Linked DNA regions of Homo sapiens: regions 2, 3, 4, 5 and 6 are each linked to region 1. Evidence: promoter capture Hi-C in 16 types of primary human blood cells and fetal thymus (Javierre and others, 2016). All regions are on one chromosome and are shown on one strand. The core of a region is centred on a gene start or on the middle of the fragment in contact, and the rest is flanking DNA. Distances in the headings are between cores, read along the strand shown. Region 1 holds the start of VAX1 (ventral anterior homeobox 1). Region 2 holds the start of SPMIP5 (sperm microtubule inner protein 5). Region 3 holds the start of LOC105378498 (a long non-coding RNA gene). Region 4 has its middle 36 kb from the start of MIR9851. Region 5 has its middle 12 kb from the start of MIR9851. Region 6 overlaps ENO4 (enolase 4).

Region 1 (5,091 bases), core at 1,265-3,764:
CGCTGCGGCCTTCACCGACAGAAGGAGGCCGTACAGAGGGGTGCGGCCGGGCCGGGGACCCAGAGCCATCTGGGTCCCATTTGGGCCAAGGCTGCGGTTTGGGACTTCCGCCGCCTGCAGGGCTCCTAAAGGGCTGAGGAAGGCCTAGAATCCTCCTGCGCACCCGATCTCGCGTAGTCCGAGGGTCCGACCCCTCCAACCCCTCCAGGGTAGGGGGCAAGGAAGGGCCGGTGTGCCAGGGAATTCGGTCGCACCCCTCCCTGCCCAAGGAGGCCCAGGAGCTCCCTCGGGCCGAGCTCTGCAGGGAAGTGAATGCCCCATCTGCTGCAGGGACCCCCATCAGGAGGACCCGAATCCCAGGGACCCGCACCCGCGACGCGGTAGTGGGAGTCAAGACCCGGCGGCTGCACCCCCGACGGCTTGGCCGCATGGGAGCAAAGCCCTCGGTGCCTCAAGGCGCCAGTCTGGGCTTTTGAGCGTTGCGGGAGGTAACAGGAGAGTTCGCCGGATTTTAACACAATCCCACTCTACATCTTCAGAACAGGGTGGCCGCAAAGTCCCTTACCCCTCTTACCCGTCTCTGCTCCCACCCGCCTCACCAACCCGCCGGAGCAGAGCTCGTAATCAAAGGCACTTTCCCCGGGCGCCCAGTCGGCGTCGGACTTCGAGGGCAGCGTGCGCAGCGAAGCCGGGCTGAGGGGCGATCAGCCCGCTGGGGACCCTGGAAACCCGCCGCCCTGCGGAGAGTAGCTCGGGACAGTTCCACCGCTCCGCCCAGTCAACTAAAGTGGAAGCCTGATGTCGGCCTGCAGGGCCAGAGATGCCCTCCGGAGCTGGGCCAAACCTGGGTGCCCCTAAGTGGCTGGAGGGGTGGCTGGGTGGACAGCGCGAAAGACCCCGCTCAGGGGGCCCCCTCCTGGCTTGGGACGGTAGAGGGGTCCCGCGGGGTGGCGGCGGAGGCAGGGGAGGTGGCGGCGGGGCGGGAGGTGCGGACGGTGCGCGCGTCGCTGCGAGCTGGAGCCCCTAGGGGCCCGCCACACACACTCGCACCCCTCCCCCTCCCGGCCTTCCTCCCACCCGCTCGCCGCGACCCCCTCCCCAACCCCCTCCCCTCCCCCCGCCTCCGCCCCATTCTTGGAATTGTGTGGAAAAATTCTCAGCCAAACCTCCCACCTCTCCTCTCCCCCCACCCACCCCCTTTAAAAAACCCCTTTCCTCCCCGGCCCCTGCACTCTTTGTGAATGAGGGCAGGGAACACGGCCCTTCCCCCGCCCAGGAGCCACGCCAGACCGCCGCACTCAGAGGACTGTTTGTTAATAGTCCAATTAGATAATTGCCATCTTTCACTCCTTTTGCTCCGCATTTCCCATAAAGGAATGAATGGGGAGAGCGGCGTGGAGAGGGCTTCTGCCCCGGCAAGGTGACGAGAAGGGCTGGAGCATGCTCCTTGCACAAGGCCATGCGCTTGAATTGAATCATTGTAGCCTAATCAATGCTCTTATTGGATTACTGGCTGTTGCTTTTCTCAAAGATATTGTAGCAGAGACAATGAAATAGCTAGGGGAAAACTTTTTTTTTTTTTTTTTGAAGCAGATCTCACAGTTGAGATTTCTCGGCCGTCTCTCCCTCTCCCCCTCTCTCTCCTGCTGGACTCTGAGTACAAAGCTGCCCTTTGAATGGGCTGCCTCAGGGCTGCTGGAGGTGCAGGCATGAAAAAATCCAACTGGAACTAAATGAAGAGAGGTGGCAGTTTAAGATGGCTGTCTGCGTCGAGGTGTGTTAAGAAGGAGTTGTTTAGGGGAAAATCTTGGCTTTTTTAGAGTGCAAGGGAGATACTTTTTGGGAAAACTTTCTCCCCCCGCTCTGTCCCCCATCCCCCACTCCCAGACAACTGCTTTCTTCTGCCGCAGGGTGCGCAGGGTTTTTTTTTTCTCCCCCCACACCCCCCCGCCGCCCAACCCTCATTCAGCTCTATCTGGCGAGTGTGGAGAAAACCCCTCTAGCCAGTATGTGAGCAGGAGGGTCAAAGGCAAAAGGAAAGTTAATAATGCCTGCTAATGGTACTAACAATTCAGGATGAATCTTGTCAAAAGTTTTTCTGGAAGTGTGGGTCTTTGATTGTGTGTTTCCTGAAAGCAAGACCAATCATTTCCGTTTATTCACTGGCTAAACCCCTACTTGATTGGGGACAAGGACAGAAACCATCCATTACGATCTGATATATTATCCAAACAATTTAGTGTATTCATGAGGTAACCGAAACGTGGGGGCTGCGAAATTACCCGTAATCAATTGCAACAGCGAGTGTGCGTCCCCCCGGGTGTCGGACAACTACAACTCGCCGTCTCAGAAACAGGCGGGAGCCGCAGCATTTCGGAGTTGCGCTGTTCGCTACCTGATCGCCAGGCTGGGGACACTGGACGTGCTCAGAGGACGCGGGTGCTGACGAGGCGGCCTCGCCGCAGCTCCACCAGGATCCTGGACCAGACTGGCCGCCTCTCGGCGAGCGCGCCACTCTCCCGTCGCCGCTGACCCGCGCGCGGCCGCCGAAGCCTCCCCGCGGGGACATTCATTCTTGCCCCTTGCCTGTCGCCGGGCCGGGCGTACGGGCCGCGTTGTCGGGGGTTTTGTCCCCTTTTTCCTCTTTTTTTTTTCCTTCTCCGCCCCCCCCCCTTTTTTTTTTTTTTGCTTTTTTTTTCCTTTCTGTTTTTGTTGTTGTTCTTGCCTATGTTCGGGAAACCAGACAAAATGGACGTTCGATGCCACTCGGACGCCGAGGCTGCCCGGGTCTCGAAGAACGCGCACAAGGAGAGTCGGGAGAGCAAGGGCGCGGAGGGGAACCTCCCAGCCGCCTTCCTCAAGGAGCCGCAGGGCGCCTTCTCAGCGTCGGGCGCTGCTGAGGATTGTAACAAAAGTAAATCCAATTCCGCAGCGGACCCGGATTACTGCCGCCGGATCCTGGTCCGAGGTAGGGATGGGCAGGGCTGCCAGGCGCGTTCTTTGGGGTCGACTCCGGGGCCGGAGCTGCGCGCTGCCGCCGACACAGGCCGGTGGGAAGGAGTGCCGGCTGGGACTTGGGAGAAAGTTGTTGGCCCTCCCCGCCCCGAGTCCGGCTGGGGACAAGCGCCTGGGACTCTCCGGTGCGCTCTCCAGGGGCCTCGGCCCTCCACGCCCGGAGGGGCCCCGCTGACCGGGCTGCGGGGGGAGATGAGGGGCTGCGCGGGTGCGGCCGGGCATCGGGCTGCGGCCTCCGACCCGGGAAAGGAGCAGAAAACTCCGGGAGGAGGTGTGCGCGCTCCAAGGGCCGGACGACCTGCCGGGAGCCGGCCAGGGGACTCCCGCGCTCTGGAGGGCTGAGCGCACCCAAGGGGGAACGCGAGCCCCGGAGAACAGCTGCCGATCGCGGGCTACGGCCCTGCCAGTTAGTGCACTGGGCCGAGGACCCCACGGCCGCGATCGGTGCCCGACCGCTGCCGCCGGGAGAGGCAGCTGGGCTTGGTTACGGAGCCGCGGTTGCCGCTTTGGTGCTCTGCTCTGCCGCTCTCGGATGGCGCGGCGTGCACTTAGCCCCGGCGGCGGAGGCTGCGAGGCCGGGCCCCGGCCCGGCGCCGCCCCAGCCAGCAGCAGATCTCCGGGCCCGGCCGGCCCCGACTCAGTCCCTCCTCCTTCCGCCGCGCGGACTCCGGAGGGAAGGAGACTCGAGGGTGGGGGTGGGGACGTCTGGATCACGGTCTGGTCGGCAAGCCCAGAGCTGGGGCCCGCAGGACCCGGGCGGGGCGACAAGGGTACCCTCAGGCTACAGGGGACCCGGAAGGCTCAGCCGAGGCCCCCCCAGGCCGGAAGAAACGTCCGCCTATGTGGAATTGATTGGATTTTTTTCTCTCCCCTGTCTGGAGGACTCTACAAAAAGACAAAGTGTGGTCCCTCCTTCGGTCAGCGGTATGGAGTTAGGCCCCTTGCCCTCCACACAGTGTCTTTGCTACCTGGTTGTGGTCGCGCTCCGCACCCCGCCCCCCATCCCCAAAACTGCACGCTTCTGGGGACTGTGTCCCCAAATCCAGCTCGGGCCAAGGAGGTGGAGGGGGACGGGAGGGTTCTGGCGGCTGACATCTCCCCTTCCCCAGATGCCAAGGGGTCCATCCGAGAGATCATCCTGCCCAAGGGCCTGGACTTGGACCGGCCTAAGAGGACGCGCACGTCCTTCACCGCGGAGCAGCTCTATCGGCTGGAGATGGAGTTCCAGCGCTGCCAGTACGTGGTGGGCCGCGAGAGGACCGAGCTCGCCCGGCAGCTTAACCTCTCCGAGACCCAGGTACCCGGCGACCAGGCCGCACACAGTTCTGCACCAGCCTTCCTCCCCACCACCCCTACCTAGCCTGCTCTTCACCTCCTAACCTGCTCTGGACAGAACTACCCTTGGGAGGTGGAGGAGATGGGAAGGATGGGTAAGACAGGCCTAAGGATTCCTTCCCCTAGATAATACATCCTTTCCCCCCACCATTCCTGCCATCCCCAAATCCTCCAGGGCCCATGTTTTATCCACCTTGGCCTAGGCCCAGAAGGCCCCAAATCCTGTCCTTTTGGAATTTTTATTGTCCCCCGGTTTTGAGCATTTCCTTCGAGCTTCTGCTCTACAAAGAACTGACTTTTGCCCTTGTTTGGGGTACCCCATTTTGGCTAGATTTCTAGGCCCCACCCCTTGTGGGCCCACCCAGCTGTACTCAGCGTCCAGGCCCATTCTACAGGAGTGAGGCTAGATCTAACACCCCCTGCCCCAGCACCATGGGTGATTCCCAGGAATTAGGTGTACGCCCTCCTGGAGATCTGCCTGTGCAGATCAGGCTGCCCTGACCCTTAAAGGAAGGCTTTCCCCATTCTGAGCTGGCCCCAGCCCTGAGCACCTAGGAGACCCTGTCTTCTGGGCCAGTGATGTGTGAGGTGTGTGATGGGAAGGAGATCTAGGACCCAGAAGCCAGTACTGCTGATTGTGCTTTAGATCTTTCCCTTTACATTAAATCCATATGATGCCCCTTGGAGCTGGCCATGTGGGCTCTGGGCCCAGGAGAGGACCCAAGAACTTGCCAAGTGGCA
Region 2 (5,091 bases), core at 1,894-4,393, 470 kb after region 1:
AAATTCATTAAATCACTGGAGGCATGCATAATGAATGGAGAATGAGTGAACTTCCAATGCAACTTGGATTCACAAACCCATTATCATAGCCAATATGCAGATTTTAAACAGCATTTCACATTTCATTTGACCATGTCTTCTTTTTCGCATCGCCTGCTGCAGAATTCCCTACTAGAATGTGAAACAACGAACAAACCACAGAACTTAGAGTGTGCTGGTTAGTCACATAACTTAGTAGCAGGATTGTGTATCCAGGCACAAAGGTGTCTTTGCTAATGTTCTCTTGCTACCTGCCCTGCTTCAAACGCTAAATGGTATGGGTCTTTCTTTGTTGCCAGCCATATTCTACAAATAAGACTTTTCAATATAGTTATGAGTAATATAATTTTATGTACATATAATGTTAGAATATTGTACAGAATCTTGGTTTCTACGATGCGCTTTTCTTGTTTCAAAAAGAGGAAAATGCTTGATTTTTGTTGATGATACTTTTGTTACTGTCCTTAATTTTCCATAGTTTGGTTTCTTAATTGTGCTCACTAAGCATCGATCTGTGCTGATGCCAAGCTATGGACTATGTACGCAAGACCGAGCAATAGACAGAGGTGCCTAGGGTCCAAACACACTGAACGCACGTGGACCGCCTGGATCAGGAGCCTCATCAGACCCTTCTCCATGCACATCCTTCCCAAACAGTCACAGATTCCATTGAAAGGAGCAGATTCTATCAGTTCTTCTGTGCAGACTTTAAGAGCTGAACGTTCTGGTTCTGGAAGCCATGTGACTGCGCAGAACAACCTAAGAAACCCTTTGTGTCCTGAGGGGTCGTTGACCTCTCCTTCCGGGTCGGAGCAGTCACTCTGAGGGCAAAGCGTGGTCCACTGTGTGTGATGTTTTCAGGATGCTAGGGTCAAAGAAAGAAACCAAGTGGTACATAAGCCCAGCTTTTCTGCTGGGCTAAGTGTAAGTGTGAGTAACATGGTCAAGCCCCTCTTTTTTGGGCTAATGTAAAGCCTTTCCTGCCTTGCATTAATGCTATCTCCCTGTGTACTGTTTCTCTTAAATGAGCAGATAGAAATCTGCAGTGTTGGCAGATAGGTGATGGAGAGGATGATAATTTTATCTTCTGGCCACAGAGCTGCAGCCCCAGTTGTCAGAGTCCTTAAATGAAACCCCCAAATCCATCCCTCCTTCCCTACCCCCACTGGAATATTCTAGAATAAGAGCACTGGATAAGTACACTTGAACACATTTTTCTAACCTTAGAAAATACCTACAAGGCCTGTTGTCTTGACCCATTACTCAATTGTCCCTGGCATATTATCTGATCTTCACGTTTCTTGGAAGCAGAATCATCAAGGCTTTCCTTTGTAACTGCCCTTTCCGTACACAGCAGGCATGAATAAATGCTGAGTAACAGACAAGTTACAGACAGGAGGGGAAAGAGGAGGAACCATACAACTGTTTTTGCAAAATGATGGCTGAGTCCAGATTATAGAGGTTGCCTTACCCTTAGAATGTTATTTAGACCAAGTTTAGCTTTTAGAGTCCAGGTCTGGTTAATTGCCAGGGTAGCAAAGAATCGCATGCACCAATGTAAACAGGAGTCAGAATGCATTATTAGTCAAAGATCGAATTTCACATTGTAGAGATGTATAGCTGTGATTAAGCTGCATATGTATGCTGGGAAACGGCTTGAGTGGATGGCTAATATAAAAGTTGTTGGCCATAATGCCACACCTCTCATCTGCTTGAAATATGGACCAGTATTCTAAAATATCAGCTACTGGGGTCTCATTCACTACAAGATAAATTCAAACTTCACAGAACTTTGCAGCAGTTCACCACCAGACGGGACTGTGTCTGCAAACTCTCTTGTCTTCACAGACGCCTAATAAAGCAAAACTCTGAATCTCATGTGGCCCAGATTTTTTTTCCCCCCATCCTGGGTTTGCAAACTGCATGATGGACACGTCAGTACTGATCTCCCTCTCTACCCCATCTCAGGTGGTGGAGAGAGAGTTTCAGTTTTTTCCAGGTGCTGTAAGTTTTCTTAAGTTATTCTAACAAGACTAGGCCCTTTGTTTGCTGGGAACCAAGGCCCCATCGATGGGCACAGAGCCCCTTTTCTCTGGAAGAAAGTGGTCTAGCCAGAGGGAGGGCAGGTAAGCAGAGTGACCACTGCCAATGCCACTGCACCCCAGTGTAAGTCATTAAAACATGCAGAAGGCCTGGCTGGGCTCTTGCCCCTGGGCATCCCAGCCGTCACGTGAAACTGGCTGTGTCCAGAGCCTACACCTGAGTCGCCCTCCACAGTTGGCTCTGAAAGCTTCCTGATGGCCCGAGGTATGTTCTAAATGGGGTGATAAAAGAGAGGTATAAATGGTGGTCGGCTCCACCAGCCTTCATTTGCAGTTCAATTTTCAGAAAAGTAGAGGTAGGGAAGGCCGGGAGGTGCAGCAAACAAGCGTGTCCTGGAAGTAGCGCAGCTTCAGCGTCATTTTCTGTAAAGGGAGCAGCCAGCACATGCTGGTTCATAGGGCGGACATCTTGGTGGGTTTCAATTCAATGAGAGGAAGTCTGGGTGTCCCTCCAAGAGTGATTAGAAAGAAGGATGACTCACCTTCCCCAGGTGGACAGCCACTCCTCTCTGCCTTCACCTGTCCCGGCCACCTGAAAATCTGCCCCTCCTAACAGGAGACAGGGAGGGAGGGGCTGCCAGGCCCAGGAAGCTCCTGTATTGGAGGCGCCAGGGCCCCCAGGCCTCGCCTCCTCCCGCCCACTGCCGGCCCCGCCCCCTGTTCCCGCCCACCCGCTTCCCCGGCCAGACCTGCAGACCCAGGCGCCGCAGTGTCTACACCCGCAAAAACGCCCGCTTTGACTTAGAGCCCTCCGCATATCCTTCCCCTGGCTGGGGCAGCCAAGGCGCGGAGGACAGCTCCGAGGCCAGATGTTTACTGCGCAGATGCCCGACTTTACACCGGGGTCCGGGCTGTGCCGGGCGCTGGGGGAAGCGCCCACCTTCCAGGTGGGACCGCGGGAAGGGTGGGGGAGGGGCAGGCTGGCGGTGGTGGGGCCTTTGTGCTCCACCGGGTGAGCGCACAAAGGCCTGGTGGAAGGCAGGGATCCTGGGCGGCCGGGCAGAGGCCAAGTGGGCACCGGATAGCGCCAGCCCCGCCCAGGTGAGCGCTGAGGTGGGATTGGAAGAGGGTGGCTAGGAGGGGCCCTACTTTCTACCCACTCCTAGCCCCCTTTCTCAGGACACCGCCTTTCTTCCCACCCTCCTCCCTGCCCACCTCCTCCAGGCAGGCTTATACCCCAGCTGATGCTTTTGGGCAACATATCCTGTCCCTGAGAGTTTAGAGGTCATCTGTTCGCACCCCCTTTCACTCTGGAACCCTGAAACCAGTTACCTAACCTCTCTGTGCCTTATTTTTCACATTTATAAAATGGGGGTTCCAACAGGAACTCATTCTTAGGGAAGCTGTGGGGATTAAAGGAGAATGCGGTTCTGCTGCAACCACATGGGGATAGCCAGTGTTCCCTGTCTGTTGCCTTTTTAAATTGGGGAATGGGTATAATATAGCATTTATATCATGGGGCTGTTGAGAGGATTAAACAAGCGTGGAAAGCTTTCAGAAAAGTAAGCAGGTGGTCAGTATGGGTGGGACATGGTCTCACAGCCAGGTCTGTCTGACTCCAGGCCCAGTGCTTCCTCCCAGGAGTCAGGTACGTGATGCCAGGGGTTAGAGTGGCCTAGACGCGGCACAGTCCTCACTGCTGTCAGCCTGGCGGGGGCTGAACTGTCTTAACAATCCCCATCATTGCTGACTAAGCCATGACTGTGGCCCTCTCCTCCACCCTGAATCCTCTTCTTCCAGCCTCAAAGGCATTTCTTTAAAGAGATGAACTGGCTCAGCAGGGCAGGACTTGGCAAGGCCTCAGCCCACTTGGGGGGAATGACCAGCGATACCCAAAGAGGGAAGGTGTCTTATTGCAGAAACAGCATCCACATAAACTGATGTTTCAGTGGAGCCCCCTGAAGCAGAGGGTGGCCTCTGCTTACCCTCCTTGGACTCCATGTCTGCCTTTTGGGACTTCCTGATTCCTTCAAGCCAGAATTTCTTCTCCCTTGTTTGTGTGTGTGTGTGTGTGTGTGTGTGTGTGTGTGTGTGCATGTGTGTGCCGGCGGGTGGGGGGAGGCTTCTGAGCATTGCAGGATGTTCAGTAGCATCCCATCCCCCACTTCTGACAGCCAAATATGCCTCTGGACATTGCCAGATGTTCCAGGGGTAATGGTGGGGGCTGGCAAAAATCACCACTGCAACCTGATTTCACCTGGATCAAGAAGGAGGTCTGGGGGTGTGCGGGCCTCATCTCTCTCCTCACCTGAGGCTCATGAACCTAACACAGGGGCTTCTGGGCTTGCTCAGAAGCTTTGCATTCCCAGCCTCTATCATGTTTCACAGCCATAGTATGAGTACAGTTCACAATTGTTGGATGGCTGGAGGTCGGATGGAGGGGAGAGGAGACCCTGGTAGGTGTGATCTACACACTGTTATCCAAGTTAACATAAAAGGTGATGGGCCCTTGGTAATAGGTCATTGGTTTGTGACTGAAGCCAGCTGTGTCTCTGGCTTTGGGTAAGGTGGTAGTGCTGCCTCTCAGCCCCAACTCCTGGCAGTCATTCTTCCACTCCCAAGAGCTTGTGCACACTCAATAGTAATTCCTTAAGGCAGTGACTTTTGATGAGACCGTTTCATTCCCTCTTCCCTCCACTAACAGAGAGCGAAATCATGGAGCCTTCCAAGACCTTCATGAGAAACCTGCCAATCACACCAGGCTATAGCGGTAAGTGTGGACGTACCCTGCAGCTGTGCCTGGCAGGGGAACCCGGGTCCTGGTCACTGTCCCTGCCTTGACCCACTGTCTGTGTCTGTGCAGCCAACTGGACCAGTCTAGGCGCTCTAGCTTCTCAGACATGCATTGAGAGCATTCCATCGCTGAAGATGGCTGATGGCCGGGTTCTGAGGGGCAGAACTTAGACCACACGTCCCAGAACATGGCCTGGTATGCAGAGGAAGCACTTAA
Region 3 (5,091 bases), core at 1,875-4,374, 360 kb after region 1:
GAATTTGCAAAGAAACTCATAGCAATAATTATTCTAAAAGATACTGTTTTAAGTCATTTCTTTTATTATTTAGATTATTTTGGTTGCTTGTCAGTGTGACAGGCCATGCCTGAGCTGTCCATGTAAAGTTCCCAAGGGGCATAAATGGGAGACTGCAGTGCAGCCTCAGATGTGGGGGGACCACCCAGTGCCACGCGGCAAGAACTTAACACCCGGGTGTTGACGAGGCAGGGAAGAAAAGGGGCGCATCTGCAGCTCAGCGCCCCTCCAGCCTGGCTGGCGTCTCACACTACTCATGTCAGAGAACAATTCAGCGGGCTACACAGGAGCCATGGTCCACCCAGGAGCTTTCTTACAACCTCCTTCCCCTGTGCATTGCTTCCTTGATGCTTCTGCAGTAAATCAAATTAAAAGCAAACTTGAACCAAGTCCAGGTTGTCAATATCTCCCATTCTCGAACCTAGTCCAGATTCCTGGTACAGACATTAAGCATCTTATATGATGCCTCACATCCCTAAATTATCATATTTGCATCAAACTTTTAAGGATATACATCTAAAATACATTCTGAAATAGTGTTTATGATTCTAATTAAGATTACATTAAGCCCAGTTTTTAGAGTTTTAAGCATTGTATATGGAGTTAACAATTAAGAAAATAAAACTCATGTATTTTTAATTGCTCTTATATTTTGATGCTCTGTGGCATCCACTGAATCAATGGCTTGAGTACTTCAGGGAAGCGGTGGATTCTGCTACAATAATAAATTCGTTGTTCACTTTGACGATCAAATTAGGCTTTCCATTTTGTTTTGTCTTCTAGGCAAAACAATAGTCTTGAATGCCGGGTTTTGTTAAGAAAAAAAAAATTTTCTGAATTCCAAAGCTTCTTTCTAAATATAAGGAATCAATCCCGGCTGATTTTGAGCGTAGAGTTTTACTGTAAGCCATAAATAGAAGGAATTCTGGATACAATGGAAGTGAGTTCCTGGGAGACAGGAAGGCAGAGGAGAAAGCACTATGCTTTGCCTGGGAGAGGTTTGTTGGGGGTGAGACCAGCGGGAGGAAGCGGCCAAGAGCTGGAGGCTGCTTTGAGCGAAATCCCGAGGCAGAGGGGGGCGTCCAGGCGGACGGACCTGAGATGCTCCTTGTTGTCCACCCATGACACCTGCCTGTGTCCCACAGGAGTCCCAGGGGTGGGCCACAGAGGTGCTGAGGCAGGGAGGGGGTGAGGTGGTCACCCAAAACAGGGACCTGGGAACCAGGAGCAGTGGCACTTGTCTTGGGTACTGGGGGGCAGTCAGCTCAGTGGACAGAGACCAATGGGATGGGTCACTTAACTGGAGGCCAGAGGGGACGCAGAGGATGGCAGGTAGACCCAAAGCCCCTCACTCACCACCAACGTGAGGCCACATTAACTTCTTTTATGGCACTCAGCTGCCCCCAGTCTAGTCCCTGGTGGAGTCACATAAGAGAGTCTGTGCCAGGCTGGGGACCACAGTAGAAGGCATAGCTCCCCAGCTGCAGGAGCCCTCACAAGACCCCAGGGACAGAGAGGTCATAGGGGCTGCAGGATTAGGCCAGGTCACTGTCTCGGGGAGGAGTTGGGAAAGGGCTTGAAAGCCCCCTGTTACTTCTGTGCCCTGATGTCCCCAAATCCTCTGGCCCCCTGGCCTGAGTGTTTCCTTTAGCAAGCAAATGAAATGGCCCCAGCACCTTCCCAGCATCCGAGCACTGAGGAAAGTCAGGGCTCACCCAGCACTCCTGTGGGGAGAGGCGGGAGGTCCTTCTTCCATCCCCTCTCATCGGGTGCCCTGAAAGTCAGTATCACGAGGCTGTCAGTGGGAACAGACAGAACTGACCAGGAAACAAACTTCACGGTCAATGTTAGATTTCCTGTTTCTAGAAAATACATTGGCCATTTCCAGCTACAGAGACTCCCTTCCCAGGCTGCCCACTGGCTGGCCCCCGTCCTCCCCAGGGCTCTCTAGAAGAGACAGTGTGGGGTGACAGAGAGAGCTGGCTTTGCAACCGGACAGGCAGGAGTTCAAATCCCAGGCTCCCGTCTCACTGGCTATGTGGCCCTGTGTGACCCTGGGATCTTTCCTTCCTGAGTCTCAATTCATCCATCTGTAAAATGGGAGTCCTGAGGCCCTATCCATAGGTTTGTGAGTGGTGGGATAACTGATATAAGGAACTCGCACGTTCTTAGTACAGAATCAGCACTTGGTAAATGGCAGCAATTGCTGCTATTGGCTTCTGGCCCAATCCCTTGGGGGCACCTGTGCCAGGTGTCTGGGAGGACACTAATAAAGAGTGACTCAGCAGAGACAGCCACAGGATGGGCGGGAGGGAGCAAAGGAATGCTGGAGTCCCCCAAAGCAGCACAGTTGGGAGCAGTGGCGGTGGGTGTGTAGCAGTCGACCTGGGGCCCTTGGGGAGGGAGTGGAGTGACAGGATGCCAGCTGGACCTATGCCATGGCAGTATAGCCAACACGAGGGGCTGGTGCAGGAGCCGGCAGGACTGGGGCCTGCAGGGGCCAGGGTGGAGGGCTCCAGGCTTGTGCAGCCTGCAGGGTCAGGGTGGAGTCAGGCCAGGGCCACGTGGGCAGGCATGGGACTGGGGGAGGAGCTTATTCAATGGTGGACCTGGGTTTTCTGGTGGGTGAATGAAGGGGTGCACAGAAGGCCTCCCTCTCAATGTCCCACTCTCCAATCCTTTCTCCTAAGAGATGGATCTGGGCCATGAACTCCTGCTCCAAAAGGCCAGTCCTCTAGCAGAGCCACGTCTGTGAAGAGACCCAAGAGCACCATTGACATTTCTTTATTCCAGGGGTTCTCACACTTTGGCAAGAGTGTGAGATGTGCAGTTGCTGGGCCCTACCCAGAGTCTCTGGGTCAGTAGATCTGCCTTGGGGCCTGAGAATTTGCATTTCTATTAAGTGCCCAAGAGTTGTTAATGCTGCTGGTCAGGGACCACACTGGTCAGGGACTGAACTAGGCATTGGTGCAGTATCACCTGGGACCCTCGCAGAGTGCTCTATGGCAAATATTTCAAAAAAGCCCTTGCCGGCCGGGCGCGGTGGCTCACGCCTGTAATCCCAGCACTTTGGGAGGCCGAGGCGGGCGGATCACGAGGTCAGGAGATCGAGACCATCCCGGCTAAAACGGTGAAACCCCGTCTCTACTAAAAATACAAAAAATTAGCCGGGCGTAGTGGCGGGCGCCTGTAGTCCCAGCTACTTGGGAGGCTGAGGCAGGAGAATGGCGTGAACCCGGGAGGCGGAGCTTGCAGTGAGCAGAGATCCCGCCACTGCACTCCAGCCTGGGGGACAGAGCGAGACTCCGTCTCAAAAAAAAAAAAAGCCCTTGCCACAGAGCAGGTTCCCCCACCCCATGTCATAGTGAATGCCACTCAAGACCAAAGAGGGTAAGTAACCTACCCAAGGTCATTCAGCTGAATGGTGGCATAGTTATCATTTGTAATTAGGTCTCCTGGCTCCAAGTCCTCCACCCCGTCACCATGATAATGACCATTGTCAGCATCATCACCATCATCGTCATCATCATTACCACAGGCACTGTGAGCTCCCTGTGGGCTGTTTTGCAGCTTTGCCCCTGCCCAGGACCAGGGACCAGCCAGAGCTTCATAATTGTCAGCTGAGTGGAATCCCTTCTTGGGGCAAGTCAGTGAGAAAGACTTTCTCAGGCTGCAGTTGACAACCCTTGGCTGAGGCCCCCACTGTGAGCTGGGCAGGTTGGCCAGGGAATAAGGAGGAGGAGACTGCTTACTTAGCATCAGTCAAGGTTGAGGGGCCATGGGCCAAGGTGAGGTTCAGAGGTGACAGAAGGGAGGCAGAACTGCTCCCTGGTCATGTTACCTTCTCGAAACCCGCTGGGAGCTGCGAAGGCAATTGTCACTCTCCAGTCTGGCTTTGAGTGACGCACAGCTCCCAGGCCTCCTGTCCTGTCTGCCCGCTAGGCTGTTGTTGCCTGGGGGTACCAGACCAGAGCTGAGGGTTCTGAGAAGGAAATGCAATTTGCTGTTGGTGTACCAGGCCTTCTTCTGTGCTACCATGTACTGCTCAGTGGACTGAAGCCTTTGCTCATTAGCAGGGCCTCATCCCAGGCCAGTTCATCCTGGGCCTCTGGAGGGGCTGGGGAAATGCCTGGGCCCACCTGGGCCTGCTCTTGCCTCCCTGGGACCTTGCCTGCTGTGCAGAGGAAAAGGAGTGGGAGGAAGGAGGGCCCAGGGGGAGTCAACGGGAGCAGCTGGGGCTGCAGTTGTTTGGAAGTCCCCTGGCTCACCCAGACTTTTAGTCTAGCTAGGGTCCCCGGTCCTGACTGAATGAGCCCCTTCTCAGAAGAACCACAGGTGGCCAGGTGCAGTGGCTCATGCCTGTTAATACCAGCACTTTGGGAGGCCAAGGTGGGAGAATTGCTTGAGACTAGGAGTTCAAGACCAGCCTAGGCAGCATAGTGAGACTCTGTCTTTACAAATAATAATAATAATAATAATCAGCCAGATGTGGTGGTGTGTGCCTGCAGTCCCAGCTACTTAGGAGCCTAAGTTGGGAGGATCGCTTGAGCCCAGGAGGTTGAGGCTGCAGTGAGCCGTGATCACACCACTGCACTCCAGCCTAGGCAATAGAGAGGGAGACCCTGTCTCCAAATAAATAAATAAATAAATAAACAAATAAATAAAATAAAGATAGAAAGGAAAAGAAAAAGAAGAACCACAGGCTTTCCTAGAGCAGAGATAGGGCCCAGGGATAAAACTTGGAACTTTGGAGCCAGACAGCTTCGGGCCTCATTTGCTCTCGTGCCTTCAAGTTGTGATTTAACTTCTCTGGGTCTCAGTTTCAGCATCTGCAAAAGGGCTGTTACAAATATTCCCTGAAAGCATCTTCCTGGAGACAGAGCTCTGAGTTTGGGCCTGGCATGCAGCTCCACAGAGTCTGCTCAGCATTTTCTGCCAGCAGAGCCAGCCCTGCTGGTCCCAGGAGCAAGTGGGGTAGAGTCTGAGATCCTCTTCTTCTGCCAAGTGTTGGGGCTCTGGGGCTCTGGGGGTCTGTCCTGGGATCTCCTCTCT
Region 4 (5,091 bases), core at 978-3,477, 350 kb after region 1:
TCCTTTTCTTATTATATTTTCGATTTTTTTTCTCATTTTATATTCCCCCTCTAAGTAGGTTGGAAGTTACATATTCTGTTTCCATTATTTTAGTGATTGTCCTAGAAATTATGATATGAATGTAACGCTTTTACCTTCCTTCTATATAGTACAAGGATCTCAGAACAATTTTATTTCATTCTCCCTCTCTTGATTTGCATGCCATTGTTGTGATGTCTTTTAATTCTGTGGGTTTTTTTTGTTTGTTTGTTGTTTTCAGTGGGGACAGGGTCTTGCTCTGTCACCCAGGTTAGAGAACAGTGGTGTGATCGTGGCTTACTGCAACCTCAAGCTCCCAGGTTCAAGCAGTCCTCCCACCCCACCTTCCTGAATAGCTGGTACTACAGGTGCATACCACTATACCTGGCTAATTCTTGTATCTTTTGTAGAGACAGGGTTTTGTCATGTTGCCTAGGCTGGTCTTAAATTCCTGGGCTCAAGACATTCACCTGCCTCAGCCTCCCAACATGTTGGGATTACAGGCGTGAGCCACTGTGCCCAGTCTGTTTTGTTTTTCTTTAACTCCATAAGGCATTATCATTGTTGTTTTATGCAGTTAATGTTTATTTAGTGTTTTTTATTCCTTTTGCATTTTAGATCTTTAAACTTGGATCCATCCTTTAGAGTTTCCTTTATTGTAGTTTGCTAGTGGAGAATTCTCGTAGTTTTTGTTGTTTTGAAAATGTCTGTATTTCACCTTGTTCTTGAAATGAATTTTCACTGGGCATAGAATTCTAGGTTGACAGTTATTTTTTCTCACAGCACATCAAATGAATCATCCATTCTTCTAACTTCCATTCCTGCCAATAAAAAGTCAGCTGTCAAACTGTTGCTCTGTTGGAGGTTATCTATATTTTCTTTCTGAGTGCATTTAAAATCTTCCCTTTGTCTTTTTAGTCATCAGTTTCAGTATGATGTTTCAGGAATAGATTTTCTTTTTCTTTTCTTTTCTCTTTTCTTTTTCTTTCTTTCTTTCTTTTTCTTTCTTTTCTTTTCTTTTTTGAGACAGGGTCTTACTCTGTCACCCAGGCTGGAGTGCAGTTAGTGGCACGATCTTGGCTCACTGTAGCTTTGACTTCCTGGGTTCAAGCGATCCTTCCACCTCAGCCTCCTGAGTAGCTGGGACCACAGGTGCACACTACCATGCCTGGCTAATTTTTTTTTTTTTTTTTTTTTTTTGTAGATGCAAGGTTTTGCAAAGTTGCCCAGGCTGGTCTTGAACTCCTGAGCTCAAGCAGTCTGCCTGCCTCGGCCTCCCAAAGTGCTGGGATTACGGGCATGTGCTACTGCGCCCAGCTGATTTATTTTTATTTTTTCTTGCTTTGGATTTATTTTGTTTTGAATCCAGGGGTTGATAGTTATCATTAGTTCTGGAAGGTTCTCACCCCCATATATCTTCTTATATTACCTCTGCTTCATCTACTTTCATTTCCTTCTAGAACCTCTCACTCCGAACTCTTTGTCTCTTAACCTCCTTTCACATTTCCCAATTCTTGTTCCTTGATGGATAATTTTTTTTTTTTTTTTTTTTTTGAGACCGAGTTTCATTCTTGTTGCCCATGCTGAACTGGGGCTGGGTTTGGGGTTGTCCCACTCACATGCTTACGTGATCAACGTACATGCATGTACGTGGCTTCCCATGGATTAAAATCATGCATGTAAAGTTCATGAGCATGGTGTCTGAGACCTGAAAGTGTTCAAGAAGTATTTATGGCCATCATTATTATTATATTATTATTATTAATGATATCATTATTACATTCCCAGGAAATTCTGATCTGTTGGGTTAACATTTCCAAGGTGCCAAGCTGTGGGTCTCTTCAAGAGAACAGAGACACCTGGGCAGGATGAATTGGCATCTTTTTGCCCAGCTAATCGATAAGCTTGGAACTTTGTCTGGGACATAGTAGATGCTTGAGAACACCCAAGGCAGGAGTGAAGCCTGTTTACCGAGATGGAAGATTCTGCAGGCAGGGAAACCACATGCCCGTGGAAGAGGAGAGGTGAACTCGGGGGTGCTGGCAGGGGCTGGAGGTGGGAGGTAGTGAATAGGAGATGCCAACCTTTTCTCAACAATTTAGTTGCATCTTAGGGAAAATGGGGGCTGAGGAGGGCCCTATGATGACAACTTGAATTGGGTAAAATTTAAGGATAAGGAATTACTAATTAGTAATAAGGTAGAATTCTTAAGTGTATGAAATGAATAATATGTAGCTAAAAAATAATGATATAGCATTAGGCATTTGAGACATGTGGACTCCAAGCAATTAACCTCTATTCTTCTTCTGAATTGCAATTGCACTAATTGGCTGCTTTACTCTGACGGGGCGATATTAACCTTTCTGCTTTTCTCTAAAGGAGCCAGTATGTTGGGTGGATGTGCTGCTCTGGTTTGGAGGAAAGGTATTTTTCCTGAATAATAACCTATTTGCAATTTTTCTCCCAAATGGTTGCATTGAAAAGGTTCTGTCAGATTTTCTTGATAAAGCTTCATCTATGGAAAAGATGCTTTAAACACATCTGACCTCCTTTGGGAGCAGTTGGGAGAAATGGCCTATCTAGGCTCTTCAAGCTTCAGACATCCTTGTGTTAATAGCTTCTCCTTCATCCAAGCAGCACACACTTGTGGAGGGAGGGCCTGCACATTCCAGGCCTGTCCTGGGTGTTGGGGACACAGCACTAGCCAGACAGTCTCCTGCTCCTGTGCAGCTTGTAACTCAGTGAAAGCAGAATATCAAAGGCAAATAAACACGTAGATTTAGAATGCAATCCCAGGGCTATGAATACAAAGATAACTGGACGGGCCAGGTGCAGTGGCTCATGCCTCTAATCCCAGCACATTGGGAGGCCAAGGCGGGCGGATCACTTGAGGTCAGGAGTTCGAGACCAGCATGGCTAACATGGTGAAACCCTGTCTCTACTAAAAATACAAAAATTAGGTGTGTGTGGTGGTGCGCTCCTGTAGTTCCAGCTACTTGGGAGGCTGAGACAGGAGAATCGCTTGAACCTGGGAGGCAAAGGTTGCAGTGAGCCAAGATCATGCCACTGCACTCCAGCCTGGGCGACGGAGTGAGACTCTGTCTCAATAAAAAAATAAAAAATGATAACTAGACAATGAGATGGGGTCTGGGAATGGAGAGTGTCCTTTAAGGCAGGGTGGGCCAGAAGGCTTCTCTAAGGAGGAAATATTTGAGCTGGGCTGTGAATGAAGCCAGGGAAAGAGGCTTGTGAGTAGAGGATCAGTATTCCAGGCAAAGGGAACAGCAAGTGCAAAGGCCCTGGGGCTGGATGTTCGGGGAGCGTCAGGAACAGCAAGGTGGCCAGTGTGCAGCATGAGTGGGCTGAGGGCAGGAAGAGGAGGGAGACGTGAGGTTAGAAAGGTCATCAGGGGGCTGGGCGTGGTGGCTTACACCTGTAATCCCAGCACTTTGGGAGGCTGAGGCAGGCGGATCACGAGGTCAGGAGATAGAGACCATCCTGGCTAACACGGTGAAACCCCGTCTTTACTAAAAATACAAAAAATTAGCCGGGTGAGGTGGCGGGCGCCTGTAGTCCCAGTTACTTGGGAGGCTGAGGCAGGAGAATGGCGTGAACCCCCAGGGCGCGGAGCCTGCAGTGAGCCGAGATCCCGCCACTGCAGTCCGGCCTGGGCGACAGAGCGAGACTCTGTCTCAAAAAAAAAAAAAAAAAAAAAAAAAAAGAAAGATTATCAGGGTCCATACCATGCAGGGATTCCTGGGCCATGGGAGGACCTTGGATTGATTTCCAGTGTGCAGCAAAGCTACTGATGGAGCGTGGGCAGGGTCTGGTGAAGGCTCTCACTGGCTGCTGTGGAGGGAATAGACAGAGGTGGGTGAGGATGACAGTGGGTGTGGAGGTGCAGCCATAAATGGAAGCAAGACCTTAAGAGGGACGTCTGGGCATCCGGTGAACCTGACCCGTAGTCTGGAGAGAGCTTCCAGGGATATGAAGCATGGCCAGAGATAATGCCCTCCTCACCTAGAAGCAGACATTAGGCCCTTCAGAAATGCAAACGGGCACTGAACAGTCACGTCAGCTTCACTCTACGACGTGTTGATAGTCAATATCCTGGATGATGCACCTTAAAAACGAACCCTCAATTCCATGCCTAGGAATTTACTCAGCAGGAATAATCAGACAAGTGCACAGTGACTACATCCAAGGTACCACTGTAGCTTTGTTCCTGGCAGAAAAAGTATAAGCAGCTTGAGTGTTCACCAACAGGGCATTATTCAGCTAAGTCATAGCACATTCAGGATTCAGAATTCTATCATCGAGAGGATAATATTTTTAAAAAATCTTATAAGGGGAGAGAAAGTAAAAGCTACAACTTATACTCATCCTTCATTTCCCAGTCTTATTTCCTAAGAGAGTTTCTGGAGTATCCTTCAAGAAACATTTTCTTCTCAGACACAGGCATATACATATATATCTATATATGTCTATATATCAATACATATATAATGGTATATGTATATAAATATATTTTTGTAAGCTAAAATAGGATACTTCTATACGTATTATTTTGTAATGTAATTTTATTTTGCGATGTGATATATCTTTGACATATTGCAGCACCAGTGCATTAGATTAATAGCTGCATAGTGGCTGGGTGCGGTGGCTCACACCTGTAATCCCAGCACTTTGTGAGGCCAAGGTGGGTGGATCACCTGAAGTCAGGAGTTCGAGAGCAGCCTGGCCAACATGGTGAAACCTTGTCTCCACTAAAAATACAAAAATCAGCTGGGCGTTGTGGCAGGTGCCTATAGACCCAGCTACTAGGAGGCCGAGGCAGGGAGAACTGCTTGAACCCGGGAGGTAGAGGTTGCAGTGAGCTGAGATCTTGCCACTGCACTCCAGCCTGGGTGACAGAGCAAAACTCTGTCTCAAAAAAAAAAAAAAAAATAGCTGCGTAGAATTCTACCAGATGGATATATCATAATTGACTCAGCAAGTTTGCTATTAATAGATAGTTTCTCTCATTTATGTGAGTTTATCTGTGGGTATATTTTCACACGTATAACTTTTTCA
Region 5 (5,091 bases), core at 912-3,411, 320 kb after region 1:
CCAGTGGGTGACCTGGGACACCACCACAGGGTAGGTCTGGCTGTGGGGCAGGCCCAAAGTCTACCTCCCTGGGCTGGAGCATGATCTTACAGGGGCCAAGAGAGACAACCTACCAAGGCTCGTAGGTCCCTGATTGTGACCAAGCTCATATGCCAGGTTGAGGCATTGAGACTTGATTCTGTAGCTCAGGGAGAACCATCCAAGTTCTCAAGGAGAGGGTGAGGTGGTCAGATGTCTTCCTAGTTGGAGAGGCCCCTACTGGCAGTGTGTGGCCAGGGAAAGGTGAGAGGCAGGGAAGCCAGACAGGAGGCTGATGCAGTTGCCCAGGTGAGAAACGATCACTCCTAACTCAGGGCAGAGACCCTGGAGAGGAAGAGGAAGCTGGAGGGGAGAGTGTCATTGTAAGGTCAGGTAACAGGAATCGGCGCCTAATTGGAGGTGGCGAATGATCCAGGATGTCTGCCAGGTGTCTGACCAGGGCAACCGAACTGCTGCTGCTGCTCTCAGCATCCGGACGGAAAGCAGTGAGATGGTCTTGTATCATCTTCATGTTTGCAGCTTATCTTGACTGACCCACATTCTTCATGTTTGCAGATTATCTTGACTGACCCACATTCTTCATATTTGCAGATTATCTTGACTGACCCACATTCTTGAGGCAGAGGGTTTTTTTGGGGGACTTTGGGTGACAAGCCTGAAATATTTTAACAATGGCCGCGATTCTCCACTTCTCTTCATTCTATTGGCAGCCTGACACCCATCGCTATGGTGGTGGAGCACAGAGAAATCTTAAATAGAAGATCATTATGTGTAGGTATGAATATGCCATCCCCCCCACCCCCACCCACACACACACACTGGATTTCCTCTGCCAGAGCCTTGAACCGAGCGAATAGAAGACCAGCCTGTCCCTGAACTTGACGGCATCAGGAGTAGCTCCACTAAGGTCACCGCAGAAGGCTGTGCCGAGGGTTAGCACCCAGCACAGAAGCCGGCACCTTGTTCCCTATTGTCTCTGGAATGCCATTGTTTTAATTAAGCCGACTTTGTAGCCAGGGTTCATTCACTACAGACAAAGCCTCTGTTAGAAAAAATTAGACCTCAGAAACTTCTAGAGAGCGAGGGGTGGAGGGTGGAATCACAAGCCACTGGCGGTAGAAGTTTCTGTTCTAAATCCCCGGGAAAAAAAACAGCAAATGGGTTTCTCCTTTTGTTAATTGTAACAAAAAAATAATAAATATGAAGTAAATCTGCATGGTGGGGTGGGGGAAGGGGTATAGGTTGCAAGAATGATTCTTTCTTTCTGCCTAAGAAATACAGTTTAAACAATCCAGATGATTCCAGCAAACTGTAGATTTCATGTTTCCACATTCGACAGCATAGTTGATACATAAGAAGGAAGAACGATTTGAATCGTGATGTCATGACTGGAGCTGCTGATTGTTTTAACACAGCTCAAGGATTGATTTCCCCACCAGAAAAATAAACTTAGCCTCAATCCAATACTGAGCAAAGGTGTTGTTGGAAGCGTTTTGTAACCCAGAGCATAAAAAGTCATCTTTTAAACCATAGTACCAGAAACTGGCGAGGGCTCCAGGCAATTTTAACCCTCTGGTATTTCTCATTAGGAAGACTTTTGTCACCCTGAAAAGAAGGAAAAACCCCATTTAAAAAAATCATGAGTGGCAGATTTTCAGGGAGACCACGCAGCTGCAACCATCGGAATTGGATGTCGGGGCTGTTTTACGTGAGCAGGACGGCGCCGGTTAAGCTTTCAGGAGCTGTGTGTCTCACCAGCTTAAGGTTAGGAAGTCAGGTGCGTGAGCCACATGGCGCCTTCTCTGCTCGCTCCTTCAGTGACATGATTTGGGTGCTGTGAAGTTTGGAGTTAGAGCTGCTAAAAACTCCAGGCCTCGGAGAAAAGGTGAAGAGTGCATTGATCAAACTGTAATTTGGAACATCATTGCCTGGCACATGGCCAACATTCTCTGCCCCGTATGCGGGGTGCCAGAGACCAGGCCAGGTGTCCTCTGCCTCTGGGGATGGCAGCTGAGCAGGAAGAACAATGGTTTCGGGAATGTTTTATATAGTCACTCGTCTGTCAGGGGCAAGATGATATGAATGTGGCAGAAAGAATGGCTTATTTGGAGCTGGAAGGTCAGCGATTGCTGAGTAATCAGGCTGAGTAAGCCAGTGGTCTTTGCGTGAGGGCTGAGACTCCAGTTCTGGTATGCCACTCACTCCTCTCTGCGGCCAGCATGCGAGTTCCTTTCCTTCTCCAAGCCTCAGTTTCCTCTCCCATAAGATGAGGAAGTAGCACCCACCAGAGAGGATGCGTGGGCTTTGATGGAGGTAATGCACCTGCACAGCTCAGCACAGAGTCTGGCCCAGTCAGTGCTCAGTGAGGATTTGTTCCAATCCACAGCCCGGCTCCTTCCTCTTAGGGCCGCGGGGGCCGAGAGGGAGAGCAGAAACACGAATTCCCTGGAGATACACATTTTGTCTTACAGATGCACTGCTTGGGAATACAGCCCTTCCAACAACAAGCTTTCTGTTTTTGAGCCTTGTCAACAGCACATGCCGAGCAGCAGGCAGAGTGCACTGAAAAGAAGGATTTGTGGCTGGCAGCGTTTGGTGGGGGAGTTGGAGGGAGTGGCCCGAGGGAAAATGACAGAGTCAGGGCCCTGCCATGTTATCCTAGAGAATCTACTTACCTGTATAAAACGGGGTAGCAGTTTCCTAGTTCCTTCCTGGGTTTTTTGCTTATTTGTTTATTTTACTTATTTATTTTTTTGAGACAGGGTCTCACTCTTCTGCCCAGGCTGGAGTGCAGTGACGTGATCTCGGCTCACTGCCATCTCCGTGTCCTGAGTTCAAGCAATTCTCCTGCCTCAGCCTCCTGAGTAGCTGGGGCTACGGGCACGCACCACCACACCTGGCTAATTTTTGTATTCAGAAAATTACATGTGGAAATGGGGTCTTGCCATGTTGGCCAGGCTGGTCTCAAACTCCTGGCCTCAAGTGATCTGCCTGTCTTGGCCTCCCAAAGTGTGGGATTGCAGGCATGAGTCCCTGGGCCTGGCCCTCTGTCTATTTTTTTTTTTTTTTTTTTTTTTTTTTGTCTTTTGGATCTGAGGCAGAGGATATCCACCACTCTGGGCAGATTTATAGGTGACCCAAAGTTGGAAGAGGCTGGCTGATTGATCAGCTGCTGATTTCAAAGATATCTCAGAAATAAGAAAAGAGCTGGTGCTAATTAAAAAAAAAAATGGGTAGGGATAAATGTAAAGTCGTGTACTTAGGTTCAAAAGTCAACTGTAAATAAACTGCATAACTGCAAGAAGAGGGGATGGTGTAAAAAGAGTGTAGGGTTTATCCCAGTTTACTGAAAAGATCAGACTGCCCCTTTGCTGTCTGCTCTCCATCTGATGGGTTTTAGGAAACTAAGTCTTAGCTCTGGTTGAAGGGAACTTATTCCCCCCTTTATAACGTAGGCTGTATTTTTAGAAAACAAATTTGCAACCCAATCACCCTCTCATACAGAACAGGAGAGGTATGTAACTTCCCAGCAAGGTGATGGTGGTGAAAGATGATCCCAATCTCGCAATGGTCCGTGGTACTCATTCCCAGATGTCCTTACCTGGTGGTGATTCAGCAGGTCCCAGAAATGTCCTTTCTCTTTTGGCTCTGAGCTGTCTAGTCTGGCCCAAGTCCTGGTCTGGCCTTTCCACTAGGACACAGCTGGATGAGGGGTCATCAGGAATACTGGGGAGGGAGGGTGGAGAGTGACTGCCAGCAGAGAAACTCCAGTTTTTACAGTTTAGCAAAAATGTTCAAACCCATTATTGGCTGGAGTTGAGTGCAAAGTCCCATGGGGGAAAAAGTTCATCTTTGGTGCAGGTGGGTGTAGGTAGCAGATGTGGCTTTTCACTTGCTGAGATATGTCACAGGTGAGCAAAGATAAGGGAAAGGCTAGGAGGCAAAAAGGGGGTTCCTGTATGGATCCTCACCAACAGCTGGCCGCCCTCTGCCTTGGGAACTCCACTTATATGTCAGACCTTCCATGTGTGACTTTATGTCTCTTAGAATCTTTTCTGGCTTCTCCTCTGTGCTTCTGTCTGAGTATTTTCTATTGATTCAGTGATCTTTTCTGCTCTAATTGCCCTTTAAACCATCTACTGACTTAATTTTAGTTATTCTAGTTTTCAGTTCTAGAATTTTCATTTAATTCTTTTTTAAAAAATAGATTCTAATTCTTTGCTGAAATTCTCTGTCTTTTAATACTTCCTCCATCTTTTCCTCTGTTTTCTTGAACATTCCTATGATAGCTTTTGAAAAGTCCTTCTTGGCTAATTCCAGCATCTGGATTATCTGAGGGTCTGTTCCTATTGTCTTTTTTTCTTTTGGATTCTGGTCATTTGGTTCTGTTTGTCTGTCTGTTATTCTATTACTAGACATTTCTATAATTTCTTTTTTTCTTAGCAACAAGGTCCCTCTCACTTTGTTGCCCAGGCTGGAGTGCAGTGGTGGGATCACAGCTCACTGCAGCCTTAATCTCCTGGGGTCAAGTGATTCCCTTACCTCAGCCTCCCAAGTAGCTGGGACTACAGGTGCTCATCACCATGCCCAGCTATTAAAAACATTTTTTTTTGTAGAGAGGGAGGGTCTTGCTATGTTGCCCAGGCTGGTCTTGAACTCCCAGGCTCAAGCAATCCTCCCGCCTTGGCCTCCCAAAGTGTTGGGATTACAGATGTGAGCAACTGTGCCTGGCTTAGAGTTTTTAATTGAATGCCAGACATTATGTATAAAAATGTGAGAAAGCAGCTGGGCACAGTGGCTCACACCTGTAATCCCAGCACTTTGGGAGGCTGAGGCGGGTGGATCACGAGGTCAGGAGATCAAGACCATCCTGGCTAACACGGTGAAACCCTGTCTCTACGAAAAATACAAAAAAATTAGCCGGGCGTGGTGGTGGGTGCCTGTAGTCCCCAGCTACTTGGGAGGCTGAGGCAGGAGAATGGCATGAACCCGGGAGGCGGAGCTTGCAGTGAGCCGAGATCGCGCCACTGCACTCCAGCATGGGCAACAGAG
Region 6 (5,091 bases), core at 1,333-3,832, 270 kb after region 1:
CATAAACTTCAATAACTTGGAAAAATTTTTATATTTAAAAAGTCACAGCATAAATTCTAAGAACTACATGTCTGGAAGCGCCTATCACATCATAAGTTACAACTCATCTACTTTTTAGGTTCGACAAATTCAGCATTTATCAACCAAATGCAGTTTGTTAAATTATTTTTCAGTAGCTTTCAGGATTGCAATGTAAGTAACTCATTTTACTTATCTTTATTGTAGAATTTCTATATATAATAATGACATTTTCTATTTAAAAAATTTTATGGTTATGTTATTCTGTGGTCATTAGCTAATTTGGTTTTCTCATTATATTTGGATCCTTCACACAATATTAATAAAAAAACAATAAGATCTGTTTGGACAATATTCAGATAAGCTCTTTTTTTTCTGAGTTCTAATTTAAAAATCATGGATCTCAATAGGAAGTGAATGTTCTGAAGTGGAAACTTACGTAGTCCATCAGCTCATGTCCAGCACAGTTGATAGCTAGATGCAGATTTGTTCCCAGTTCTAGCCCCAGGTTGGCACAGATTTCCTGTATTAGAAGCAGTGGCTGTTCTATGGAGTCACAGTTAATGGTTAAACAGCCAAGATGAGACATCTTGCCAGTGATCTGCTGCTGCAAGATCAAGAGACAATGATCCATGTCAATACAGCACATTAAGGTTCTTGGCGCTTCCTGTGATAAGCATGGTTTATGATCAGATATAGCTCTGCAAAGATCAGTCCTTTGATTCTCAATCCTACTTAGGATTGATTCACATGACTTAGGGCATATGATTCCCCTGCAGTATCTGGGAGTAATTTTCTTACTCCTGAGGTTTCCAAGTTTGGCCTGGGAGTGCACTTTTCTCTCTTTAGTGTGTCTGTGTTCTCTCTTTATGGATGCTGCCATTCCTTGTACATGGGGCTAGCCTGAGTCACAACCACCCAGTTGGTGAATCTCCAGGCCCTCCCTGTAAATGTCCACCCTGTCTGTCTCTAGCTCTGCCAGTCCTTTTCCTCCAAACCTGCTCTTTCGTATGTTCTGTTTTCTTCTAGATAAACGCAGCCATTAAAAGCATAGCCCTCCTTCAGGAGAAGTTTCATTTATTTATTTGTTTTGAGATAGTGTCTTGCTCTGTCACCCAGGCTGGAGTGCAGTGGCTTGAACGTGGCTCTGCAGCCTCGACTTCCCCAGGCTGAAGTCATCCTCCTTTCTCAACCTCCTGAGGAGCTGAGACTACAGGCATGTGCCACCACACCTGGCTATTTTTTTTATTTTTTGTAGAGACAGGGTCTCACTGTGTTGCCCAGGCTGGTCTTGAAGTCTTGTGCTCAGCACTCCCAAAGTGCTGTGATTACAGGTGTTGGCCACTTTAAAAGGATTGAAGACTTCCACTAAGAGGATGCAATACTGAAGATGGATTTTAGTGGAAGATGATTTCAGGACCCACATAACCCCAAGGAAAGACAGCTACTGCAAAGTCAGCCTTGATGTGCCCTCGCCATAAATTGCCACTATGCAATTATAAATTGAAGCAATATCAATGAATCTGAGGGCTTAAGGTAAGGGGTGTGTGTGTGTGCACCAAACTCAATGACAAACATGAACCCGGGAATGAATATTCTGTTTTGACTGGTGATAGCACTATTTTAATGTCAATGAGAAGAAACTTTTATTTGGCAAACAAAGCAATAGTTGGGGAAATTTTTGTCCATCAACTGAGTTTTGTTACAGAGCCTTCTAAACTATGAAAGCATCACTTATTTGGTGCTTACTAAATGCCAGGTACTGTTCTAAGCACATTACATAAAGTAAATACATTTACTCCTTACATCATACAAAGATATTATGATCTCCATTTTACGGAGTTAACTAAGTTGAACCAGATTTTAATCCAGGCAATTTAGCACCAGAGTTTATACCCCTAATTCTTGTGTGGCTGCCTCTCTGGAATCTATACTCTAGACTGTTTCTAATGGGAAAAAGAAAAAGTAGTAGTAAAGCTTATTACAGGGAAGGCTGATGTTGGTCTAAGTTTCCCAGCATGCAGAGAACCACCTGCTGGGATGAAGGCACAGCACTGAGAATTGGTGGCTTGTTTACCATCTCCACCTCTTGCAAGGCCTAATATTAGAAGGCTGTGCTCATTCCAACATATACAAACTGTTGACAGGATTTTACTTACCGCTGTATGTGTTCACACATTTCTCTTCTCTCTCCTGATCTTAAAAAGAAACTTCACTTTTTTATCTTTGCCATGTCTTCTCCCTTCTTTCCTAGCCCCTCTTTTTTTTGTCTTCAGCTGACTCTCATGTACCTAACATCAGGGTGGGGCAAAGATTGTTCGCTCACAAACCAAAGCAAATACTGCAGATGCGAGCAACCTTCACCCATGTGCATGCTCTTCAAAGTTCTTATTGGCTCTTCTATTTATATTGTTGAAAGTTTAGGCTATAATAGATACATCTATCAGCGCACTCACAATCACCAACGTGACTGACAGATCAAGTTCAGCTGGTCTCCCAAGGCTCCTGAAGCCAGCGAACGGGTTTTGACAAGGAGGGCTGTTCGCCTCACTCTCCTGGCAAAATCGGAGTTCCTGCAATGGTTCGTCAGAAATGATGCTTCAGTGCCTTTGGGGGACCAGATGGAAGGAATAGCCATCTTTTTGTGCTTCTTGTTTTTCTCTTTGTTAATAATAAAATGTAAAACATCCTATGTGCCTTTCAGCTAGTTGTCAGAGAGATTCGACTTCCCAAACACTTCCCCTATAGGGTCCAGTGTAACCCTACGTCTCATAAATGCTTCCTAGCCCTGTGAGATTCCAGATGGTCAGACAGCTGCTGCCAGCGATGGTCGGGCAGCCTGTTGCTGGAAGGCAGGGGCAGCATGATACTGCAGCTCTGGGGGTGTCTGGAGCAATATCACTATATGGTTTCCATTTGCCTCAGTCCTGGTCTTGGAGCAAAAAGTGACTATGGAAGATAAAAAGGGGCAGGAAATTTATAGACAGTGTCATATGGAAGGATGGTAAACAATATATAGACTTACTTGACCTCTTTTGCTTCCATCGTGCCCTTTTTTTGTCTCTGCTTTTGGAGGAGAGGGCTGTGGGGCAGAAGATAAAAATGTATCACCTGGAATTTTTAGCATGGCTGTGGCAGCAAGCAAAGCTTACTGCTCTGAGACCTGACCAGCAACACTGAATCTCACACACGTGTGCACACATACACGCACACACACGCACTCATGCACATAGGGATGATTCCAGCCACTCCCTACTTTATATGCCACAAACTATTTCTCAAATTCAGGAATGTGTTTCCTTTAGTTCATCCTTACCCTCTGCCCCCAGTCACATATATGGGGTGTGTGTACAGATTCATGCATTTCTATGCATATAAATAATGTGTTATTCACACATATATCATGAACTCCTGCTGTGTGCAGGCACCCTTTTTCTGCAGGAGGATACAAAGTCCCCTCCTTGCCCTTAGGGCTTAACCCCACTGCGGGATTTGCTTTTACAGGCCCAACATATTGTTTTGAATATTCTCAGAGTGCAAACACTTTCTCCTGCAGGGTGGTTTTGACTTTGATTTGAAACAGTCAAAGGTCATTAAATCTGGTGAATCTGGTGGGTGTAGTGTCATGAGGTTAAAAGCAAAGGTAATTCCCAAAGAGGCATTCCCACATTTGGGGTATTGGGTGCATATTATTGCAAGGATCTAATCTTTTAAAGGATGCTCAGCGTGTACTGATTCTGTAAACTGAGGCAGGATTGTCAAGCATAGGTATGGTTCACACTCAAGTATATGCACATACAGTGACCCTGAACAGAAGGGCAAAGGGAAGTCATGTGATGTGATCGGGGGACAATAGTGATTACTGGCTCCAATTCAGAATGGCAAACATTAAAGAACAGTCTTGGTTTGCATTATTATTGGATTTCTCATGTTTTTTATGCTCCCTCATTGAGACTTTTAAACTGCCTGAGGACAGGAAGTATGTTTTTCTCCCCTTTTGCACCTAGCACAGGGCCTTGCAACAGCAAAAAATAACCAGGGAAAAAAACAACCTGTGACATCTTTCTGTCTACCTTACTAAGAATAAGCTGTTACATAATGGAAGTCAAAATCTCCAGCCCCACCTCTACCCCTTTTCTTTTAAAGACAGGGTCTCACTCTGTCACACAGGCCGGAGTACAGTGGCACAGTCATGTCTCATTACAGCCTCGAACGCCTGAGCTCAAACAATCCTTCTGCCTCAGGCTTCAGAGTAACTGGGACAACAAGCGTGCACCGCCATGCCTGGCTAATTTTTTTTTTTTTTTTTTGGTAAATATTTTTGTAGAGACAGGGTCTCACTATGTTGCCCAGGCTGGCAGCCTTTTTAATCATAAAAAATGCAATGTATTCTAGAATGGCTGTTCTCAGACTAAGTGGATTTAAAAATGGCTAAAAACTGAAACAAATATAATCTTTCCTTAATAAGAATTAGGCAACTCAGGAGTTCCTAGGGAGAGTGAGTTATGCCAAAATAAATCTGGCATGATGTAATCTACTAATCTCTGCCACCAGCCAAATGATGTCATCAGGAACTATCACTCTATTACTAAAACAAAGCATGGTGATTGCAGTAACCCTGGTTCCACTCCTATCATCTCCTGTTTTAAGACCGTGGCTTTAGCTAAGGTTATCTATAGACATCTTTGGGTTGGGGCCTGCATGAGAAAACATACCATTTCTTCAGCATTTTTTTCTCAAAATAGATTTAAATTAAGACTTAATAGAAGAATCGCGGTAATGTTGGGAATGATCTGTTATCACTGTAATCACTGGGAAGGATTAAACATCTTTCTATATTCAATTACTAGGCTATCAATAGGTGTCCTTTATTAGGAGCCCAGCAATTCAGCGTTCCTCCCATACAGGATTTTTTTTTTTTTTTAATGGGACAGGATCTCCCTCTGTCACCCAGGCTGGAGTGCAGTGGCATGATCAGAGCTCACTGCAGCCTCAAACTCCTGGGCTCAAGCAATCCTCCCACCTCAGCCTCCCAAGTGGCTGGGACCACAGATGCATGCCACCACACTGGAC

What was found. The method cuts DNA at HindIII sites, captures the fragments that hold promoters and counts their contacts. A CHiCAGO score of 5 or more calls a contact.
Region 2: the fragment with the promoter of SPMIP5 here is called in contact with the fragment with the promoter of VAX1 in region 1 in 15 of 17 cell types (naive CD4 T cells, endothelial precursors, megakaryocytes and 12 more); the score reaches 11.3 in naive CD4 T cells.
Region 3: a fragment that was not itself captured here is called in contact with the fragment with the promoter of VAX1 in region 1 in 2 of 17 cell types (monocytes and activated CD4 T cells); the score reaches 5.6 in monocytes.
Region 4: a fragment that was not itself captured here is called in contact with the fragment with the promoter of VAX1 in region 1 in 7 of 17 cell types (M0 macrophages, megakaryocytes, M2 macrophages and 4 more); the score reaches 9.2 in M0 macrophages.
Region 5: a fragment that was not itself captured here is called in contact with the fragment with the promoter of VAX1 in region 1 in 3 of 17 cell types (endothelial precursors, activated CD4 T cells and M1 macrophages); the score reaches 5.4 in endothelial precursors.
Region 6: a fragment that was not itself captured here is called in contact with the fragment with the promoter of VAX1 in region 1 in 3 of 17 cell types (M1 macrophages, endothelial precursors and M2 macrophages); the score reaches 6.4 in M1 macrophages.

What each region holds. Positions count from the first base shown.
Region 1 is chr10:117,135,693-117,140,783 of GRCh38, reverse strand. VAX1 (ventral anterior homeobox 1) reads left to right here and starts at 2,514. Exons shown (of 3, transcript NM_001112704.2): 1 at 2,514-2,968; 2 at 4,125-4,312. The coding sequence starts at 2,728. RefSeq lists enhancers at 1-344, 345-931. The HindIII fragment of the contact is 11,137 bases long and covers 1-5,091 here.
Region 2 is chr10:116,668,018-116,673,108 of GRCh38, reverse strand. SPMIP5 (sperm microtubule inner protein 5) reads left to right here and starts at 3,143. Exons shown (of 6, transcript NM_001350931.2): 1 at 3,143-3,182; 2 at 4,786-4,851. The coding sequence starts at 4,797. HSPA12A (heat shock protein family A (Hsp70) member 12A) reads left to right here. Exons shown (of 12, transcript NM_025015.3): 12 at 1-1,917. It overlaps HSPA12A-AS1 (HSPA12A antisense RNA 1), which reads right to left and starts at 3,054. Exons shown (of 3, transcript NR_187551.1): 1 at 2,831-3,054; 2 at 2,624-2,715; 3 at 371-904. The HindIII fragment of the contact is 1,303 bases long and covers 2,332-3,634 here.
Region 3 is chr10:116,772,288-116,777,378 of GRCh38, reverse strand. It overlaps LOC105378498 (a long non-coding RNA gene), which reads left to right and starts at 3,379. Exons shown (of 3, transcript XR_946339.2): 1 at 3,379-3,827; 2 at 4,860-5,013. It also overlaps a transcript of HSPA12A not described here. RefSeq lists an enhancer at 2,004-2,503. The HindIII fragment of the contact is 4,474 bases long and covers 888-5,091 here.
Region 4 is chr10:116,788,741-116,793,831 of GRCh38, reverse strand. It overlaps a transcript of HSPA12A not described here. Among named protein-coding and RNA genes, the nearest start is that of MIR9851, 36 kb to the left of the region's middle. The HindIII fragment of the contact is 605 bases long and covers 1,925-2,529 here.
Region 5 is chr10:116,813,278-116,818,368 of GRCh38, reverse strand. It overlaps a transcript of HSPA12A not described here. Among named protein-coding and RNA genes, the nearest start is that of MIR9851, 12 kb to the left of the region's middle. The HindIII fragment of the contact is 776 bases long and covers 1,774-2,549 here.
Region 6 is chr10:116,866,659-116,871,749 of GRCh38, reverse strand. It overlaps ENO4 (enolase 4), which reads right to left. Exons shown (of 14, transcript NM_001242699.2): 8 at 3,044-3,100; 9 at 458-625. Among named protein-coding and RNA genes, the nearest start is that of ENO4, 20 kb to the right of the region's middle. The HindIII fragment of the contact is 1,170 bases long and covers 1,998-3,167 here.